3 separate regions of the Homo sapiens genome follow, and all the other regions are linked to region 2. Evidence: promoter capture Hi-C in 16 types of primary human blood cells and fetal thymus (Javierre and others, 2016). All regions are on one chromosome and are shown on one strand. The core of a region is centred on a gene start or on the middle of the fragment in contact, and the rest is flanking DNA. Distances in the headings are between cores, read along the strand shown.

Region 1 (3,433 bases), core at 691-3,190, 530 kb after region 2:
CCAGCAACACTACAATAAGTTCACTCTCTGCATTCACTTCATACTATGTTCCTAATGCTGCACTGGCAACTTTGCTGCTCACTTTTAATTAAAGCACAAGGGTTGTGGGAAAAACGACTTCTGCAGGCATTGTAATCACTCTGAGGGACTGCTTTATCTGTCCTCTAACTCTCTATGTTGGCCTCTGAATAAAGCTGCCCTCAAATGGGTGGACAGTCAAGTACTCTTCATGGGGGTCTTAGTTCTAGAAGGCACAGAGATGACGTATGTGGGAATTCCAAACACAGGCAGGAAGAGGGAAAACACATGGAAGTGATTTTAGTGCCTAATTTTGGCTATCTCTATACAAGTATGACAAGATCGAACACATCTGAAAGAAGGAATCGGCACTGACATTTTATATCAACTCATTTAAGAGCATTGCTAAATTCATCGCAACCTTTGATATTCAAGACCCATAAATATCAAGACGTGTGCGTGTGTCTATGTGCATGTGTGTGTGTTACAGATACAGACCTCACCATTTCACCATTTGTGCATTGCTGCAACTCTGTCGAGCTTGGTTTCAGCCTTATATAACCCTGGTGGGAAAACTCAACTAGAGTGAGGCAGTGGCTTCTCCACCAGGGTGTGACAGTGGAGAACCAAACAGATAGGTAGAAGTATGGACCCAGCCCCTCCCCTTTTCTCAATACAGGCCATTTTCATCAGTCTATCTAATTTGTTTATGCCTTTATCCATGTATTTAGGTGTGTACAAAAGTTGGGCTGCTAAAGAAGTTTGAAATCCACTGCCCTCATCTACATTTTCACTGATGCATAAATAAATTGCTTTATTTGAGTCAAAATGCATTTATTTTGTGAGGGATTAAAAGGCCAACTATATTGCAATTAATTCTAGAGCCTATTTTTGTTTTAAGAATGAACTAATGGGGACCTATACATGTTGCAGCCATCCAGGTTTTTTTTTTTTTTTTTTTTTTAAGCAATTAAAGCAGCAACACAAATCCCTTGGTGTCCTGGAGAAGATGGGGTGGGTCAGAGGAGAAGCAGCACAGGTGGTAGAATCCAGGGACCTGGCCCCACCCAAGTCCTCACCCTAGTACACTACCCCAGTGGCCCTGAGCAAGCATTTGATCACTGCCATTATGTCTGCTGTGCTGGGGGTGGAGGAAATGGGAATGATATCGTCAGTACTCCCAATGCTAAAGGATGGTTGAGAGGATCAGCCTGATCTACAAGCTTGTTTTCAATTAATATTTTCAAATATAAGTTTGGGAGGGGAAAAACATTCAAGCCAAAGCATAGGATATACCTGTTTAATGAGAAATACATAATGAGAACATTAGGATGATCACAAGAGGGGCTTCATATGGGGTCTAAAACAGAATTAAATTCTAGCAAGCTAAAGATTGTTTCCGGACGGGCATGGTGGCTCACGCCTGTAATCCCAATACTTTGGGAGGCTAAGACAGGTGGATCACTTGAGGCTAGGAGTTTGAGACCAGCCTGGGACACCTGGTGAAACCCCAACTCTACTAAAAATACAAAAATTAGCTGGGCGTGGTGGCACATGTCTGTAATCCCAGCCACTCAGGAGGCTGAGGCACGGGAATCACTTGTACCCGGGAAGCGGAGGCTGCAGTGAGCCGAGATGGCGCCACTACACTCCAGCCTGGACGACAGAGCAAGACCCTGTCTTGAAAAAAAACCCTGAAATATAAAAAGTGAAAGATTGTTTTCCTAAGGAAATCAAAAAGAAACAGTCATGGGGTTATGTTGCTAGGAAAGGAGGAAAGTGAAGGCAATTTGTCACCCTGAGAAAGAATGGACTTCTGCTTGACATCTCTAGCTCTGTTTTTCCTTTGTTCTTTTAAATAAATAAACAAAACATAAAGAGAGGAAAGCCCAGAATTCCAAAATAATTTAGCATAAGCAAAGGGAGACAGACTCCAGAGAGACCCACAGTCGGCTTCCCAGCCGGCCCTCCGAGCTTGTTCTCAACTTTTCCTGATACCTCCGCCCTGCCCTGCTGCCCCCACAGCTCTTTCTGCAAAGTGTCAGGGACTCCACCCTCGGGAGGGTCTCACTTTCCACATGAGCGGCTCCTCTTCGCATGTTTCCTAATTGGACCTATTTAAATCAGGAATCCACTGCCTTGTGCAATTAGGCATCTAATAATTGTTCAAAGTTGATGGTAATTTTTATAAGTTTGCCAAGGTCATTTAAGCCTAATGAACTTGAGTTCAATCCAAACTCTAAGTAATGGCTCATTTACAGTTTGGATGTGTTCAGTATACAGTAAGTTGGTTTTTTCTCTAACTGCACTGGTTTGCTAAGATATTTCTGACAATAATTTTTTAGTAATGCCCTTTGTGGAGTAATGAGATTCTGAGACCATGGCCTTTAAGATACTTGGGTAAGGTTTACTTATGTAACTGTATTGTATCCTCCGTACAAGCCTTTTTATCCCTTATTTTTTTTCTCATTGTTTTTTCTCATTGTTTCCTTAGAATATTCATTTTTTCTTCATTATTTTTTCTCATTGTTTCCTTAGAATATTCATTTTTTTCTTTTTTCAATTTTATTTAACATCATTATGTCTTTTTTCCTCCACCCTATGGAAGGTACTTTTTACACAAAAGCTTCTGTCACTAACTATGATTGGAAATGTGACATCCAGTGTGAACATTTATCTTAACAGAATCATTAATTTACAACAAAATGCTAAATACCAGTCCCCTCCAGGAAACAGTGAAGCAGACTTTGCATTCCTTAGCTTTTTTCTTATAAAAGATATTTTAGATCCATTTTACTGCATGAATCATTTCTCTTCCAAATCCAATATGTTAAACGATTTCACAGTATAGCACTTATCAAAACCTACATCCTGGCCAAGTGCAGTGGCTCACATCTGTAGTCCCAGCACTTTGGGAAGCCGAGGTGGGCGGATCACCTGAGGTAAGGGGTTCGAGACCAGCCTGACCAACATGGTGAAACCCCATCTCTACTAAAAATACAAAAATTAGCCGGACGTGGTGGTGCATGCCTGTAATCCCAGCTACTTGGGAGGCTAAGGCAGGAGAATTGCTTGAACCCAGGAGGCGGAGGTTGCAGTGAGCCGAGACCATGCCACTGCATTCCGGCCTGGGTGACAGGGTAAGACTCTGTCTCAAAAACAAAAAACAAAACAAAACAAAACCCTACATCCTGTGCCAGGTCCTAGAATGATTCCACAATAGTGGTGGTGTCCCCTGCTGGGTTTGACCCTGTTCTTTATTTCAGCTAGTGTCCGCAGCAATGACTCTCAGCAGATGCTTGTCACAGCGGAGGGCATGTTTCATGCTAGCAGCTGCACTGCATTTGATGTGCAGGACAGCCCTAGGAGGGTTGCTATTCCCATTCTACAGATAAGGGAACTGACGGTCCAGAGT
Region 2 (3,500 bases), core at 820-3,319:
ACTCCCCCTGCCTTCTTGCTCTACGGAAGGCCTGTCTCTGCTCAGAAGCCCTCTCAGTAGAGGCTCCTGTTACCCCCAGAGCCCTCTGTCTCTGGCTGTGGGGCTGGGTCAAGGGGACCCCTTCTCTTCACTGCACCTCCAGACATTTGCCTTCCCTCCTCCCAACACTCCCAGGCTTTGAATCCCATTTCATCTGATGCTGTCACCACTGCCCCTCAGTCACCATCATCTTCCATCTACCATGATCGTTCCAGGCCACCTCCAGAGCACCCACCCACTGAATAGCATCTTGATGCTGCCTTCCTACCTGTTCCATTGTTAAGTGCTGAGTTCCTCTACCTAAGGCCAGCACCCCCTGGATCCCATGTCCTCTCACTACCAACGATGTCACCCACTTCTCCCTCCTCCTCCTATATCATTCTGGGCCATTCCCTTCCACACACAAACATTCTATTGTTTTCTGTCTTGGAGCCATGTCCTCTGCCTCTAGCTGCCAACATATTTCCTTTCCTCTGCAGCAAAACTCCTTTAAAGAGTTAGCTATGCTCACCATCTATAGTTTCTCTCCCCCTACATTCACTTGAGTAAGTCTTTCTATCTCATCATACCACTGAATCAGCTCCTGTCAAGGTCACTGGTGAACTCCACACTGCCAAATCAACAGTCAGTTCTCAGTTCTACCCCAACTTGTCTCAGGAGCACTTGATGGAGGAGAAAGAAGTTACTTCTCCTGGAAACACTATTATTTCTTCCACTCGCTTCTTCCTCATGGATCATGTCTTTGATTCCTTTGCCAGGTCTCCTCTTCCCCCAGCCTTACTGTGGATGATCCCAGGATCAGTCCTTACACCTCTTTATTAATATTCATTCTATGTCTCACAAAGACCATCACAGGCTGACAGTGAGCAAGTTTATATTTCAGACATGGGTCTCGCTCCTGAACCCAAGATCTGAATATTTTAATTGCCTATTTCATCTCCACGTGATGTCCAATGGGCACTTCCAACTCAATACGTCTTAAACAGAACTCTTGATCTTCCCCATTTCCAAACCCTGGCAAGCCTTTAACCTCTCTGCTCTTATTTCCTTGCCTAGAATACAGGGCACGTAATAGCAACAGTGCAGGCTGGAGCTACAGTGCCCGGCTTGGCACTGTTCACTTGCTGTGTGAACTACTTCACCTCTTCATCCCCAAGTTCCCTCATCTGTAAAATGGAAATAACAATATTAACAGCCCCTACGTTACAGGGTTGCTGTGAAGCGGTTAGAACAGTGTCTACAGGGTCAGCGCTGTAATACCTGTTGGAAATTATTCTTACGAAGACCAAATGAGGTAACTTTGTGCAAGTGCTGTGTAAACGACACAGTGCTAGGCACACACTTCTTTCAGTACCAATGCCACTCGAGTCTGTGAAAAGCAAATGTCAATAATGCTTTCCCAAGATCTTTCTAGACTTAAATTTCAGGACCTAGGTGTTTCCACAAAGCACCGTATTTGTTACCGTGAAAGATTAACAAAAAAAGCAGACAAAATGGCATAGTGCTTCTCAGCAATAGCCCCTAAGGGCTTGGCAGGTATACGGAAGACTGGGAGCTCATCCCCATGGGGTGGTGGGACGCGTAGGGGAGGGGGAGATCTAAGTGTATGATTTTCCTTGCTCACAAGAAGCAGATACTCTATCCCGAGGCATATTTGAATTTCCTAAAAGGAAAAAAAGTGGGGGAGAGGAGGGAAGTTGAGAGGGGAGGAGAAAAGAAAAGAAAAAAGAAAATAAGAGAAGCAGAAAGCAAGCCACCTTCTGGCTTGGGGAAGCCCACTCCATGGCTGTGGCTGGGAGCCCATCACTTACGCGTTCGACATTGCTGGCTACTTTCCCTCTTTTCCTCGCCCTCCGGGAAGCTCTTCCGTTGCTCTCTGAAGGACGGTGGCAGCAGGGGTCAGGGCACTACCAGGAGCTACAGAGGATTTGGGTGGGGGGTCTTCTGGAGGGAGAAACCAGGACTGCGAGAATCTTCTGCTTCGGGCAGGAAAAGGTGAGGCCGGGTTTGCTTCGCAGGCACGGAGCGCGCAGGCGCAGAGAGGTGTTTCACTCCTTCCCGTCGCGACCCAGAGACTCGCGAACCTCACTTCGGCCACTCAGGTGGGCGCGACGCGGCCCTAGCAACGGAAACGCCGCGCCTGCGCATTGCCTTCCGCCTGCCCCCTCCCCCCCCCCGCCCCCCGCATTCCGCGCCTGCGCCACCGCGGGAGGCCTGGGTGGGCGCAGCTGTGGGAGCCGGTCGGAGTCCGAGCGCTCCGTCGCGGGGCCCGGCCGCTTGGCGAGCCTGCTCCGGGCCCCAGCACTTAGCCTGTGGTCCTCCAGGCCGTCTTCCCGCTTTCCTGCTGGCCCCATTTTCATCCACTGTCAGCTCTGCGGCCTTGGGCAAGGCCCTTAATGATGGTGGTCTTCAGTTTTCCCATCTGTAAACTGGGTATAACAGTCGTTCGTTCAGAACTTTACTGGGCATCTATTCTGGGCCAAGTGCAGACTTAGATTCTGGGCACCCAAGACTTAGGCAGACGCGCCCTTCGGAGACTTAATGAGTATGAACTAAGGCGCGGGTGCGTTGTAAATGTAAAATGCAGTGTGGATGCTATTAACAGTTATCCGTAAGTCGCTATGAGTGTTGGCTTTCATTGCTCTTCTTTCTTCGACTTTAGTAACTGTTGAGGTTTATTTGCACATTTTAGACCCTGCAGCTCCTATTGGAACGCCAGGTTTAATGCTGTCAAAGGCGTGGAGAGGACATCCAGGTAAAAATTATAATCAGGATCACAAAACCTCTCCCCCACCATTACTAATGAAATGCGCAAAAGCATAGTAAAAGCCAGCCCTCCGCACCGCCTTCAAATAATGGAGCAAATTATTTCTCAGACGAGAAATTGAGTACAACCTTGTACCGTAAACTTCAAAAACTCAGTGAAATAGCAGCTTGCCGTGGAGAATGGTGTCCAGCCTCATCTCCACCCTCCCAAAGCCCTTCAGGGGGCAGAGACCAAGTAGACACAACACCAAGAATTCTCATTAATGCTTTTTGATGCAAAGAATACACACACTGAAAAGAAGGGGTATGAAAGGGTGAGCCGAACGAGGAAACACCTGGGGAAATCCGGCCAGATAAAACCATCCTGAGTGGAGGTCAATCCCTACCGCTCCCAGGACCTGAGCAGGGACAGGAGAAATCTCCAGGGCTTGCCTTTTTCTAGGTCCCTACATTGAATTGAGGCAAAGATTCAAAGTCAAAGGGCATGTTGTCACAGGAATAGGGCACACTCGTGACAAGAGTGGGAGGATGGTGGTAAAGGAGCTTATCAAAATCTCAGAAGAGAGCACAGAGCCTGGAAGTTGTGTGGATTCAAGGGAGCAGTCCTTATCCTAAATGTGTACTCAGGTTCCAGAAAAGCAGAGAAAAGTGCAGTATCTCAGCTCTGGAACTCAGATACAGTGAGAAGACAGTCA
Region 3 (3,422 bases), core at 259-2,758, 600 kb after region 2:
AAAAAAAAAAAAGCTGGAGGCATCACACTCTCTGACTTCAAAGTATATTACAAAGCTGTAATAGCCAAAAACTCATAGTACTGGCATAAAAACAGACACACAGAACAGAGAGCCCAGCCAACTGATTTTTGGCAAAGATTCTAAGAACACACCTTGGAGAATGGACATTCTCTTCAATAAATGGTGTTGGGAAAACTGGATATTCACATGTGGAAGATGAAATGAGACCCTTATCTCCACCGTATAAAAAATAAAAAATGGATTAAAGACTTACATGTCAGATCTAAAATTATGAAACTATTAGAAGAAAACACGGGAAATTCCTTATGACATTGGTCTGTGCAAGGATGTTTTGGATAAGACCTTAAAAGCACAGCCAATGAAAGCAAAAATAGACAAATGGGCTTACATCAAACTAAAAAGCTTCTGTATAGCAAAGGATACAATCAACAGAGTTCAGAGACAACCTGTAGAAATGGGAGAAAATACATATAAACTATACATATGACAAGTGGCTAATATTCAAAATACGCAAAGATCTTAACAAAAAACAAATAGCCCATTTAAAAAATGGGCAAAGGACGTGAATAAACATTTCTCAAAGAAGACATACAAGGTCCAATAGATGTATGAAAAAATACTCAGCATCACTAATTATCAAATTATCAGGGAAATGCAAATCAAAACCACAAAGTGATGTCACCTCACCCCAATTAAAATGACCATTATCAAAAAGACAAAAGCTAACAAGTGTTGATGAGGATGAGGAGAAGAGTGAATGCTTAAAAACAGTTAGTGGGAGTGTAAAATGGTACAGCTTTATGTAAAATAGTATGTTCATATCCAAAGGAGATGAAATCAGTATGTTAAAAAAAATCTGCCCTTCTTGTTGATCACAGCATTGTTCACAATAGCCAAGATATGGAATTAACCTAAGTGTCCATCAATGGATGCATGGATAAAGAAAATGTGGTATATATGTGGAATGGAATACTATTCAGCCATAAAAACTGAAATTTATGACAACATGGATGAACCTGGTAGACATCAAGTTAAGTGAAATAACAAGCACAGGAAGACAAATACCTCATAATTTTGTCCATATGTGGAATCTAAAAATGGTGATCTCATAGAAGTAGAGAGTACAATTGCAGTTACCAGAGCCTGGGGAAGTTAGGTTAAGGTAGTCTGGGGACATGTTGGTCAAAGCATACATAATTACAATTAGATAGAAGGAATAAATATCAAGAGCTCTGTTGTACAGCAAGGTATATTGTATTCTTGAAAAATGTATAGAGCAATGTTATGTGCTATCACCACAAAAATGATGACTGTGTAGCAAAAAGCACACCTAACCCTCAGATCCTTGCTTCTAGAAGCATTTTCCACTAAAAGGAATTAGGGACTTCCACTTTGGCTCTGACGGACTAATAGGATTCAGAATTATCCTCCCATCGTAAATTTAAAAAATGCATGCAGTATAGGAAATGATTATTTTCCGACATCAGACAACTGGAAATACTAGATGTAATTCTGGAGAGAGGAGGAACAAAGAAGGTAAGCCTTAAAGTCTACTATGCTTTCTGCCTGGGGGCAAATAACACTGCAGCTCAGCAAAGTGGAGCTCAAATAGAGCGTGGCAATCTTACTAATTGAAGAGCATAGATTCAAAAGGCTGAGGGAGCTAAAATTTGTAGGGTGGAGTTTGATAAAGGGTGGGGGACTAGTCAGAGAAATAGTTGTATATATTTGCATAGACATCTGCTTGAGTCTTTGGTTGAGTGCCAGTCTGCTCATGTGTAGGGTGAAATCCCATGAGGTGGGCAAGAATAGCTTCCAAGGAAAGAACAATTACTGGAAAACTATGAGAAAAAAAAATTAACAAAGAGCTAGAAATCATTCAAGATCCCTTCATCTATAGTAAGAAGACCTCATTGACTAAATGGAGTGTTCACTAGAGACTCCAGAAGGGCCACACCTTAGTAGTGGGGCTAAATTAGCCCTAAATTAAAGGTAAATATAGATCTTCTGTACAAAAGTTTAAAAGAGCTTCAAAACAGCTAAATCCACAAGTTACATAATTGGTTGCAACACTCTTTGAAGACATACTTCAAAATTCAGCACTCTACAACCTAACCTCACAATGCTCAACAACAAATAAAAAATTATTAGACATTATGTGAATAAGAAAAATGTTATAACTAGGAGAAAAATCACTTACTAGAAACAGACACAGAAATGAAAGGAATGATGGAAATAGCAAACAGAGATGATAAAACAGATATGATGAATATACTTTAAGTGTTTAAGGATATAAAGGAAAACATAAACACAATGAGTATAGAAATAGAAGAGATATAAAAGACCAAGGTGAAACTTTTACAGATTAAAAAAATACAAGATCTGAAATGAAAATTTCTCTGGATTGTTTTAATGTCAGAATAGACCCTACAGAAGAAAATATCAATGAATTATAAGGAACAGGATATATCTCAGAGGAAGTTTAGAGGAAAAGAAAGAATTAAAAATGAGTGGATTAATATCAAGAGGTCTAATGCAAGTGTGATTAGAGTCCCCACAAGCTAAGATGAAGTAAAGCTTTTTGAAGAATTAGCCAAAAATTTGATGAATAGTACATAATCTCACAGATCCAAGAAGTTCAATCAATGCTAACTAGAATAAACACACACATATGTTGTACAAAATACATCATAAAATTGCTGGACAACCGATAAAAATTTTTTTTAAAATTTTAAAGGAGTTGCTGTATCTTAGAGTAGGCGGAGACACATTACATAAAAAGAAAGATAAGAATTTACAGCAATGAGATAATGGAATGACATCTTTAAAGGCCTAAAAGAAAACAACTGTCAAACTAGAATTCTAAAGCCAGTAAAAATGTCCTGAAAAATTAAGGTCAAAGGAAAAAAACAACTTTTTTTTTGACAAACAAAAACTTAAAGAGTTCATCAACAAGAGATCTGCACTGAAATACATGTTAAAGGAAGTTCTTCCAACTGAAATAAAATCATATCAGATCAGATACATTTAGATCTATATGAAGGTATAAAGAACATCAGAAATAGTAAATATGTGGGTAAAATGTCTTTATTTTTTCATTGCTTTAAAAGATAGCTATTTGAAGCAAAAATAATGTAGGATTTTTAATATGTAAAGGTAAAATATATGACAACAATAGTGCAAAGAATTGAAGAGGGAAATGGATATATACTTTTGTAATGGTCTTATATAGTAAGTGGTAAAATACAGTAAAGTTAAATTATAATAAGGAAAAGATATTGAAGCCTAGCGTGAAATGTCCAATATGGTGGCCACTAGCCACAACTGACTAAATTTAAATTTTAATTAATGAAAATGAAATAAAATTAATTATTCACTTTTTCAGTGGCACCAACTACATA

What was found. Contacts are between HindIII fragments. The CHiCAGO score rates a contact against its expected background, and 5 or more counts as called.
Region 1: a fragment that was not itself captured here is called in contact with the fragment with the promoter of DRC11 in region 2 in 12 of 17 cell types (M2 macrophages, M0 macrophages, M1 macrophages and 9 more); the score reaches 33.7 in M2 macrophages.
Region 3: a contact is called between a fragment that was not itself captured here and the fragment with the promoter of DRC11 in region 2, in 2 of 17 cell types (neutrophils and monocytes). The highest score is 7.0, in neutrophils.

The regions. Positions count from the first base shown.
Region 1 is chr2:237,034,148-237,037,580 of GRCh38, forward strand. All of the region lies in intron 1 of COPS8-DT (COPS8 divergent transcript), which reads right to left. LOC105373950 (a long non-coding RNA gene) reads left to right here and starts at 2,527. Exons shown (of 3, transcript XR_007088140.1): 1 at 2,527-3,433. The HindIII fragment of the contact is 1,403 bases long and covers 1,240-2,642 here.
Region 2 is chr2:236,505,407-236,508,906 of GRCh38, forward strand. It overlaps DRC11 (dynein regulatory complex subunit 11), which reads right to left and starts at 2,070. Exons shown (of 19, transcript NM_024726.5): 1 at 1,851-2,070. The coding sequence starts at 1,861. RefSeq lists a silencer at 2,196-2,245. The HindIII fragment of the contact is 24,475 bases long and covers 1-3,500 here.
Region 3 is chr2:237,108,030-237,111,451 of GRCh38, forward strand. No RefSeq gene overlaps it. Among named protein-coding and RNA genes, the nearest start is that of COPS8, 24 kb to the left of the region's middle. The HindIII fragment of the contact is 2,175 bases long and covers 422-2,596 here.